Linked DNA regions of Homo sapiens: regions 1 and 2 are each linked to region 3. The links are contacts of gene promoters, found by promoter capture Hi-C in blood cells and fetal thymus (Javierre and others, 2016). All regions are on one chromosome and are shown on one strand. Each heading gives the region's core, a stretch centred on a gene start or on the middle of the fragment in contact. The rest is flanking DNA. Distances are from core to core; before and after follow the strand shown.

Region 1 (2,700 bases), core at 65-2,564, 540 kb before region 3:
CAATATGAAAAGATTGTGTGTAGGCTATCATTTCATGCTTGAGAAACAAATAGATGAAGATCATTTCATGTACCACTGGGCTGGGTGTTTAGAGACAAATGTGTTTCTTACCTGCTAGTGTAGACCAGTGAGCAGCAGGAAAGGATATACATTCCCAGCCATGGGCAATCCTTTATCCGCATGTGTGGCCAAGGATTTTTCATACTGTCTTACATTGGCTGGGAAAGTTGACTTCTGAGTTCCCTGACAAATCTGAGATTCTATGACTTTATTAATCATAACTATTAATAACTACAGGTTATATGTTAATAGTTATAGTGGTTATAATTATTAGTTATAATTATTATTTTGTGCAATAGATTCTCAGAATCTGAAGCACCATAGAGGTTAAAAGAGGTAATAGCCATCTTCCTGTCTATAACAGTCTCCTTTTCAACATCCTGGGAGTTATCAACAGCAACTACAGGTTCTGCTCAAACACCTCCAACAAAATAGAACTCCCTAGGTCCCACAACCATTTTTGCTGTACAGTGTTTTCCTGTCATAAGAAAAATAATTTGCATTCACTGTAATAATTTTAGAAAACAAAACCAAAATGTACAAAATAAAAATTAAAAATATCTGTAATACTATCACTCAGAGATAAACACCATGAACATTCTGATGTATGTGCCCAGGTGTGCGTATGTGTGTGTGTGTGTGTGCATGTGCATGCGTGCACATGCGTGCATGGGTATGCACACCTTTATTCTAAAAGAATTGTACTACTCATGTTTTAGAACCATCTTTTATCCTTTTTCATTAAGTATTTGTCCATAATATCACCTTTAAAAGTTCAATAAGCATATTTCGTTTTTAAATAGCTATAATTATTAGGATTTTTCCTTTTATCAAGCTAAACCTTACCTCTTTATAATCTATATGCCTTGCCCCTTTCTCTGTCCTCCAGAGCCAGATGCAATAAAAAGTCTGATCCCTCTTTTGCAGGACAACCCTTTAAATATGTGAAGACTGCTTTCTGGTCTTCCCACCAGTCTCATTTTTAATTTTTTAACTCCCTTATTGAAGTAAATTGGCATATTTAATGTACAGTTTGATTAATTTTAATATAGGCATACACCTGTGAAACCATCACTAAAATCAAGGCAAGAAACATATTCACCTCCTAAAGTTTCCTTGTGCACCTTTGTGTACCTGTGTGTTTGTATCAGGCAAGAATATATATTTATTGTACATACACACCATGGACTATTATGCAGCCATAGGAAGAAACAAGGTCATGTTTTTTGCAGGGACATGGATGGAGCTGGAATCCATTATCCTCAGCAAACTAACACAAGAACAGAAAACCAAACAAATGCTGCATGTTCTCACTTATATGTGGGAGCTGAACAATGACAACGCATGGGCACAGGGAGGGGAACAACACACACTGGGGCCTGTTGGTGGCAAGGGAGGTGAGGGAGAGCACCAGGATAAATAGCTAATGCATGCAGGGCTTCATACGTAGGTGCTGGGTTGATAGGTGAAGCAAACCACCATGGCACATGTTTACCTATGTAACAAACCTGCAGGTCCTGCACATGTATCTGGAACTTAAAATAAAATAAACATTTTTTAAAAAGAATATTCATTTATTTATTTATTTTTGTAGGAATATTTAATGTGATATACTCTCTTTAACAATTTTTTTTTTTTTGAGATGCAGTCTCACTCTGTCACCCAGGCTGGAGTGCGGTGGCGCAGTCTCGGCTCACTGCGACCTCTGCCTCCCAGTTCAAGCAATTCTCCTGCCTCAGCCTCCCAAGTAGCTGGGATTACAGGCACCTGCCACCACGCTTGGCTAATTTTTTGTATTTGTAGTAGAGATGGGGTTTCACTATGTTGGCCAGGCAGGTCTCTAACTCCTGACCTCAGGTGATCCACCCGCCTGGGCCTCCCGAAGTGCTGGGATTACAGGCCTGAGCCACCGCACCCAGACTCTTTAACAAATTTTTAAGTGCACAGTGCAGTTAACTATAGGCATAGTGTTGTAAAGCAGATCTCTAAAACTCATGCATCTTGCATCATTGAAACTTCATACCCATTGAACAACAGCTCCCAATTTCTGCCTCTACCCAGTCCCTGGCACCACTGTCCAAGTCTTTGCTTCCCTAAGTTTGACTATTTTAGCTACCTCATGTAAGAAAAATCATGCAGGATTTTTTCCTTCTGTAACTGGCTTATTTCACTTAGCATAATGTCCTCCAGGTTCATCTATGCTGTTTCATGTGGAAGGATCTCCACATGGCCGAGTAATATGCCATTGAGTGTATAGACCACATTTTTTATCCATTTATCTGCTGATGGACATGTAGGTTGTTTCCATGTCTTGGTCATTGTGAATAATGCTATAGTGAACATGGTTGTGCACTATCTCTTTGAGATCCTGATTTCAATTTTTTTTTTGGATATAAACTCAGAAGTGGGATTGCTGGATCATATGGTAGTTTTATTCAAAAAAATTTTTTAGAACCTCCACAGTGTTTTACATCATGACTGTACCAACTTACTTACATTCCATCACCTATGTGCAAGGGTTCCCTTTTCTCCACATCCTCACCAAAACTTGTTGTCTTTTGTTTTTATGGTAATAGCCAATCTAACATATGTGAAGTGCTATTTTGCTGTGGTTTTGATTTGCATTTCCCTTAGTGATTA
Region 2 (2,760 bases), core at 260-2,759, 790 kb before region 3:
TATTTCTTTTAAAATGGAGATTAATGTCTAATTCCATATAAAGAAGATTATAGGAAAGGTGATTTAAACTGTAAGTAGCTTTGTTCACCAAAACGCTAGATTTATTTGAAACAGTGTTTTATTTCTTTTGGAAGGCAGACAACTAGTTTAATAGTGTACATATGAAACGCTAATTTGGCTTGTTAATTGGATGCAATTAAATTGAGGTTATTTTATACTGCTTAATTGTTAGAAAATTACATGCGTTGCCATGCCTGTGTAATGTGAAGCAAAAGCGAAGGGTATAGCAGGAGTGGGGGTGGGAGGGACGCAAGATCTAGTCCTGTCTTTGCAATTAACTTTCTGTGAAAACTTGGAAACAAGTCATCGAAGCTCTTTGGACCTCATTTGGAAATGGAAGAGATTGGAACAGATGGCTCCTAAAGCTTCTTCCAGCTCATATTCTATCAGTTTATAAATTCTACTTTGTAGTTGTAGAGAATGCAATGTCATTATATTCTGTAATTATGGTATTACAAGGATGAACTAAACACTTAAAAAAATCAGCACAGTGCCAATTTAGCAAATCCGTTAGAAGGAAGGCAATTTAGGCTTAAAGAGCACTCACCTGTGCCAGGCTCCATCCCAGGCTCTCTCTCCACATTACGTCACTTAGCCCTCACAACCAACCTGAGAAGATTTAGTTTTTTATCTTGATGTGTATACTTAAAGAAACTTCCATTCGGAAAGGTTTTTGTGGGGATGCTTTGCTAGTCATTGGTGAAGCAGGATTCCAACTCAGGGTTCTTTGGCTCCGAAAATGCTTTGTCTTTTTACCATTTCACGCAGTATAAGCAATTGTTTACACATCAAAATTATTTCAAATATTTAAAAAAGGCCAACCATATTTATCACTTAGCACAATGTTTCCCCTTAGTAGTATATGGATAAACAGGTAGCCCACGGGATTAAGAACCTCGATTTGAAGTCAGACAGAATAGGGCAAATTCCAGCTCCACCACCACCTGGGGGAATTTGGGTATGTTACTTAACCTCCCTGAGGTTACAAAATGAGGATAATACCCATTCAAGAGTCATTGGGAAATTTTTATGAGAATGTTTGTACCCATCTCAATGAGCACATAGTAAACGTTTAATACCTGGTAGCTATGGGTTATTATTAACAAGGTATTAGACTATAAGAAAAACATAGGACAATTCAAATTGTTGTGACAGTAAAATATTAAATATTTTCAAATGGTCCATTAAACTCTTGACTGAAATGGTTTAAGAAACAATGTTAGAATGACATGGTTTCACATTTAACAGTTAACAAATGGAAATATCAATTAAAATCTGGGGTGTTTCTCACTGAGCTCAGCCAGTGCTATGCCAATGAAGTGAACTAAATTCTCTGGTTCTTTGTGGAAAATCATTCTGAAGTTTTTGCTCTAAAAATAGCTTTTGGGGCCTGAATTACCCCTTACCCCACTCGAACTTCTGTGCAAGAGCCAGAGGACCAGTGATTACTCGTGGGGCCTTGGGCCTACTTAAGAGACTCAACTTGGGTGTTCACAGGACTGTTGACTTTAATTCTAAAAAAATTTATTAATTCAACAGAGATTTATTAAGCACCTGCTCTGGGAAAGGGCTGTTCTAGACACTGGAGATCCATCAATAGACAAAAATAGTAAAAAAAAAAAAAAAAATTCCTTGCCTTCATGGAGTTTACATTCTAGTAGACTAATTTAGAAACTTTTTATGGCTAATTCAGTCACTGCATTACTTTTCAGTGTTTACAGGATCTCTGCTTTTATAGTGGTCTCTCTTAACCCAAATAACAAAGAAACATCGTAAGACTTATTAAATCACTAATGAAATACCCCATTTATTTTATATATATGTGTATGTGTGTATGTACATATATTTCATAGTAAGGTAGTTTTTGACACCTAAATATTATAGCACTAGATTTTTTAAAAATTCATTTTTATGGTTCAGCATTATGGCCCTTCATACCTGTAGAATTAGTAGAATTAGGTGCTGGTGGTCGGGCGGTGGCTCACGGCTGTAATCCCAGCATTTTGGGACGCTGAGGTGGGTGGATCACAAGGTCAGGAGTTCGAGATCAGCATGGCCAATATGATGAAACCCCATCTCTACTAAAATTCAAAAATTAGCCTGGTGTGGTGGCACGTGCCTGTAGTCCCAGCTACTTGGGAGGCAGAGACAGGAGAATCGCCTGAACCCGGGACGTAGAGGTTGCAGTGAGCCGAGATCGCCCCACCGCACTCCAGCCTGTCTGACAGAGTGAGACTCCATCTCAAAAAAAAAGAGAGAGAGAGAGAGAATTAAGTGCTGGCTGTTTTATTATGGGCAAGAAAAAAATGGTTTACAAATGACACATCCTTTTTTTTTCTTCTTGAGACAAGTTCTCGGTCTGTCACCCAGGCTGGAGTGCAGTGGCGCGATCACGGTTCACTGCAACCTCGACCTCCTGGGCTCAAATGATCTCCCGCCTCAGTCCCCTGAGTAGCTGGGACTGCAGGCTGGCACCACCATGCGCGGCTAATTTTTGTGACACATCCTATTGTTAAATGCATTTATAAGCTTGCCAAAGTGAAGTAGTTAAATTATATTCAGAGTTTATATTTTTAATCTTGTTTAAGTGAATTATTCATCTTTTAACTGATAATTTTTGCTATAAAATTTCTAGTGGATTAGGATGGTTTCACTTTCACAAAAGTGTGCTCAATACAGTGTATGACATGTGCTGGGCAT
Region 3 (2,910 bases), core at 344-2,843:
TTTATAACCTCTATGGAGAATACTCTTTCCCAGATGGTGCAAGGTATGCCTTTCACTCTTTTATTTCCCCAAATGTCAATTCAGTGAAGTGTTCCTGACCACTATGAAACTGAAATCCCATCTGCACTCCCTGCCACCACTACTCCTGATACTCTTATTCCTTTTCCTTGCTCTATTTGTCTTCATAAGCTTTTAATACTCTATGTATGATAGACTCTATATTGTTGAAACTCTCTACCTCCATTGTATGTAAGCTCCAAAAATGCAGCAAATGTAGTCACAGCGCCTACTAATGCTTGATACAAAGGTAGCTCAATGAACACATACTGAATGAATATGGACCCTGCTTGAGGAAACTGAAGAACAAGTATAATAAAAATGATGCTGTAAAATTTGAACAAAATGAAGTAATGCACAGAGAATAATCAATTTGCTGCCCACAGAAGTGGTGACATTTGGGTTAGATCTTGAATCATGAGTTTGCCAAGTGCAAGAAAAAGGTGCACATTCCAAGAGAGTGGAAGATGGTAGGTCTGAAAAGGCCTTGCACATTTGAGAAACAGGGTACATTTGGAGTATGGCAGAGATAACAGTGACCAGATTTTAGCTAACCTTACAATATACACAACAATGGACGCATTATATCCAACTTCTCAACTCTAAATATCCTTTTCAGAATTATAATTGTCCAGTTACTTGTTTTATTTGCAGTAAAGTTAAGAGTACAGAATACAAAATAAAGTTAACACAGAATTACTGGCACTCCCTTTACTCACTACAAGTTTGAGCAGAGTTAACCTATATTTTTTTTAATCAAACTGTAAATTCAACGTATAACACTCAAAGTGAAAATACTGCTTTCAAAGGTCTCAACAGCGGGTATTATTCAAAGAAGTCAAAACTAAAAATTCTGCATGGTAGGAGAGAGCAGCTGGGTGGGGAAAGGTCAAATTCAACTGCTTATTTAGTAGCAGATACTCCCCATTTAACCAAATGAGTTTCTGATTGGGCTTGCATGCTGTCATAAATAATATTCACTTATTACTATGTTTTCAACTAGTCTATCGTCCTTTTATCCACATCACTCCTTCTTTCGGACACTCACCTTCGTTTTAAACCTAACTCAATTTATTTTCAGGATTCCTATTTGAGACAAGAAGCTCTTGTGTGTACACACACAGAGAAAACCTTGGAAGATTATATTCCACAGTTCAAGAGCCTGTGTAGTCAGTACTGGAGCATTTAAGCACAAGATAGGAGAAGCAGTGGACACCATGGTGTTTTGGGATTCCTACTGCCAGGGGGTGGGAACCCAGGGAGTTCCCTGGGTAGGCTCGAGGTCAAAGCTCAGGTTTAAAGCGAGGGGGGCGGGGCATGCCCCAAGAACCTCAGGGAGGTGTGTGGGCCCTAAAATGCAACTGGGAAAGAAAGGGCGCGGCCACTCGGAAAGACTCACAGTAATAAGCCACCACAGGGTCTCGCTTGTCATGCTCCTGAGCCGTCCTCAGATGATGCTGTATGCTCTTGAACTGTGCGGGGAGCGGGGGCAGCGGTGCAAGCGCGGCCATCTCTACTCCGAACTCACCACTTCCTACTCGCGCTCCACCGGCACTTCCGCTTCCGTCTGGGCGGTAGCGCGCACGAGCGTTCAGAGCAAATGCTGCCCACTCTTCCGTTGCTCAGCGACGTCAAGTCAACTACGGATCCCCAGCTGGGACAACCTCAGGGTGCTTGGCTCTCGGCGGTTAGAACCCACAGAAGACCCGAGCATTTTGGCGCTTATGCCGCGCATGGCGCTAGCGCTCTCTGCTGGTAGGAGGAAGGGTTTTTGTTTTGTTTTGCTTTTTTGTTTGGTTTGTTGTTTGTGGCAAAAGGAAGGATAGAAAAGGAAAAACAAGAAAATAATGTATGTTGACTGGGAGAAAGTATAAAGGCGAGAATTGCCTTTGGCGTCATTCAGGAATTACCACTTCCAGTTAATATGCCACATTAATATTCCATATAGCAGTGTCCTTTAGAAGCCTTTTTGATTTTAGAAACTTTAATTTCAATACTTGCATGAGAGAGAAATAATGTGTTTAAATTGTAAATTAAATTTTTCTATGTTGACATACTGGATAAAATAATCAGATTTCGCGCCAAATTAAGCTAAACATATGAAGCTTAAAGAAGATTGAACTTTTGTTCTCAGCTGGCTAGTACGTATTTTAGTGAATGAATAATCTGTAGATCACCTTTTTTTTTTCTGGAGAGTGATTAACAATTTGTAAAGTATTTTCATATTTATTATCTTGTCTTAATGTAAGATAGGGTGTTTGGGACGTTTTCAACGCTGGTAACTCTTAACCATTGTACAGTAGGCATCACTTTTCCTTCTACCCTCAATGACTTCAATTCTCTTCCTCTCCTCTCCATCCCTTACTTATATCTTTCAGGACTGTACACTTTATTTACTTCCTCCAATAACCTTCTTTATTTTATCTCAGTCCTCAGTTTTGACAATTCATCTTAAAACTAGTTTTCACTGAAATCACACTATCCCCAAGAGCCAAAATCTCCAGCTCGGAAATTCCCCTCTGCCTACTATTTTCTGATCACTCTCTCACCCCCAGAAGAAACCGCTCCATGTCCTCATATTATCCCACTCCACATACGTTGCCTAGACCTATTTGCAAAGTCCATCATCTTATTCTGGGTCGGGCTTTTTTACTCAGCCTGAAACTCAGTTCTGTCTTCTTCCCCAATCTCAGCGGCATATTTCCTACCACTGGAGAATGTATGGTTTCTTTCTCTTTCTCTTACTCCCACTATTTGGACTTTCCAGTCAAAAGTTGCTAGATTGGTAGAGAAATCAATGAAGAAAAGCAGAGTTGGATAACCATAACTGTTTTCTTTCTATACTCACAACTT

Evidence for each region. Contacts are between HindIII fragments. The CHiCAGO score rates a contact against its expected background, and 5 or more counts as called.
Region 1: a contact is called between a fragment that was not itself captured here and the fragment with the promoter of VTA1 in region 3, in 1 of 17 cell types (fetal thymus). The highest score is 5.8, in fetal thymus.
Region 2: a fragment that was not itself captured here is called in contact with the fragment with the promoter of VTA1 in region 3 in 1 of 17 cell types (fetal thymus); the score reaches 5.1 in fetal thymus.

The regions. Positions count from the first base shown.
Region 1 is chr6:142,689,129-142,691,828 of GRCh38, reverse strand. No RefSeq gene overlaps it. Among named protein-coding and RNA genes, the nearest start is that of HIVEP2, 250 kb to the left of the region's middle. The HindIII fragment of the contact is 3,484 bases long and covers 1-2,700 here.
Region 2 is chr6:142,935,755-142,938,514 of GRCh38, reverse strand. All of the region lies in intron 1 of HIVEP2 (HIVEP zinc finger 2), which reads left to right. Among named protein-coding and RNA genes, the nearest start is that of HIVEP2, 8.0 kb to the left of the region's middle. The HindIII fragment of the contact is 2,164 bases long and covers 428-2,591 here.
Region 3 is chr6:142,145,946-142,148,855 of GRCh38, reverse strand. It overlaps VTA1 (vesicle trafficking 1), which reads right to left and starts at 1,593. Exons shown (of 8, transcript NM_016485.5): 1 at 1,457-1,593. The coding sequence starts at 1,568. It overlaps NMBR (neuromedin B receptor), which reads left to right and starts at 1,734. Exons shown (of 4, transcript NM_002511.4): 1 at 1,734-1,812. RefSeq lists enhancers at 892-1,412, 1,667-1,806, 1,570-1,864. The HindIII fragment of the contact is 1,973 bases long and covers 192-2,164 here.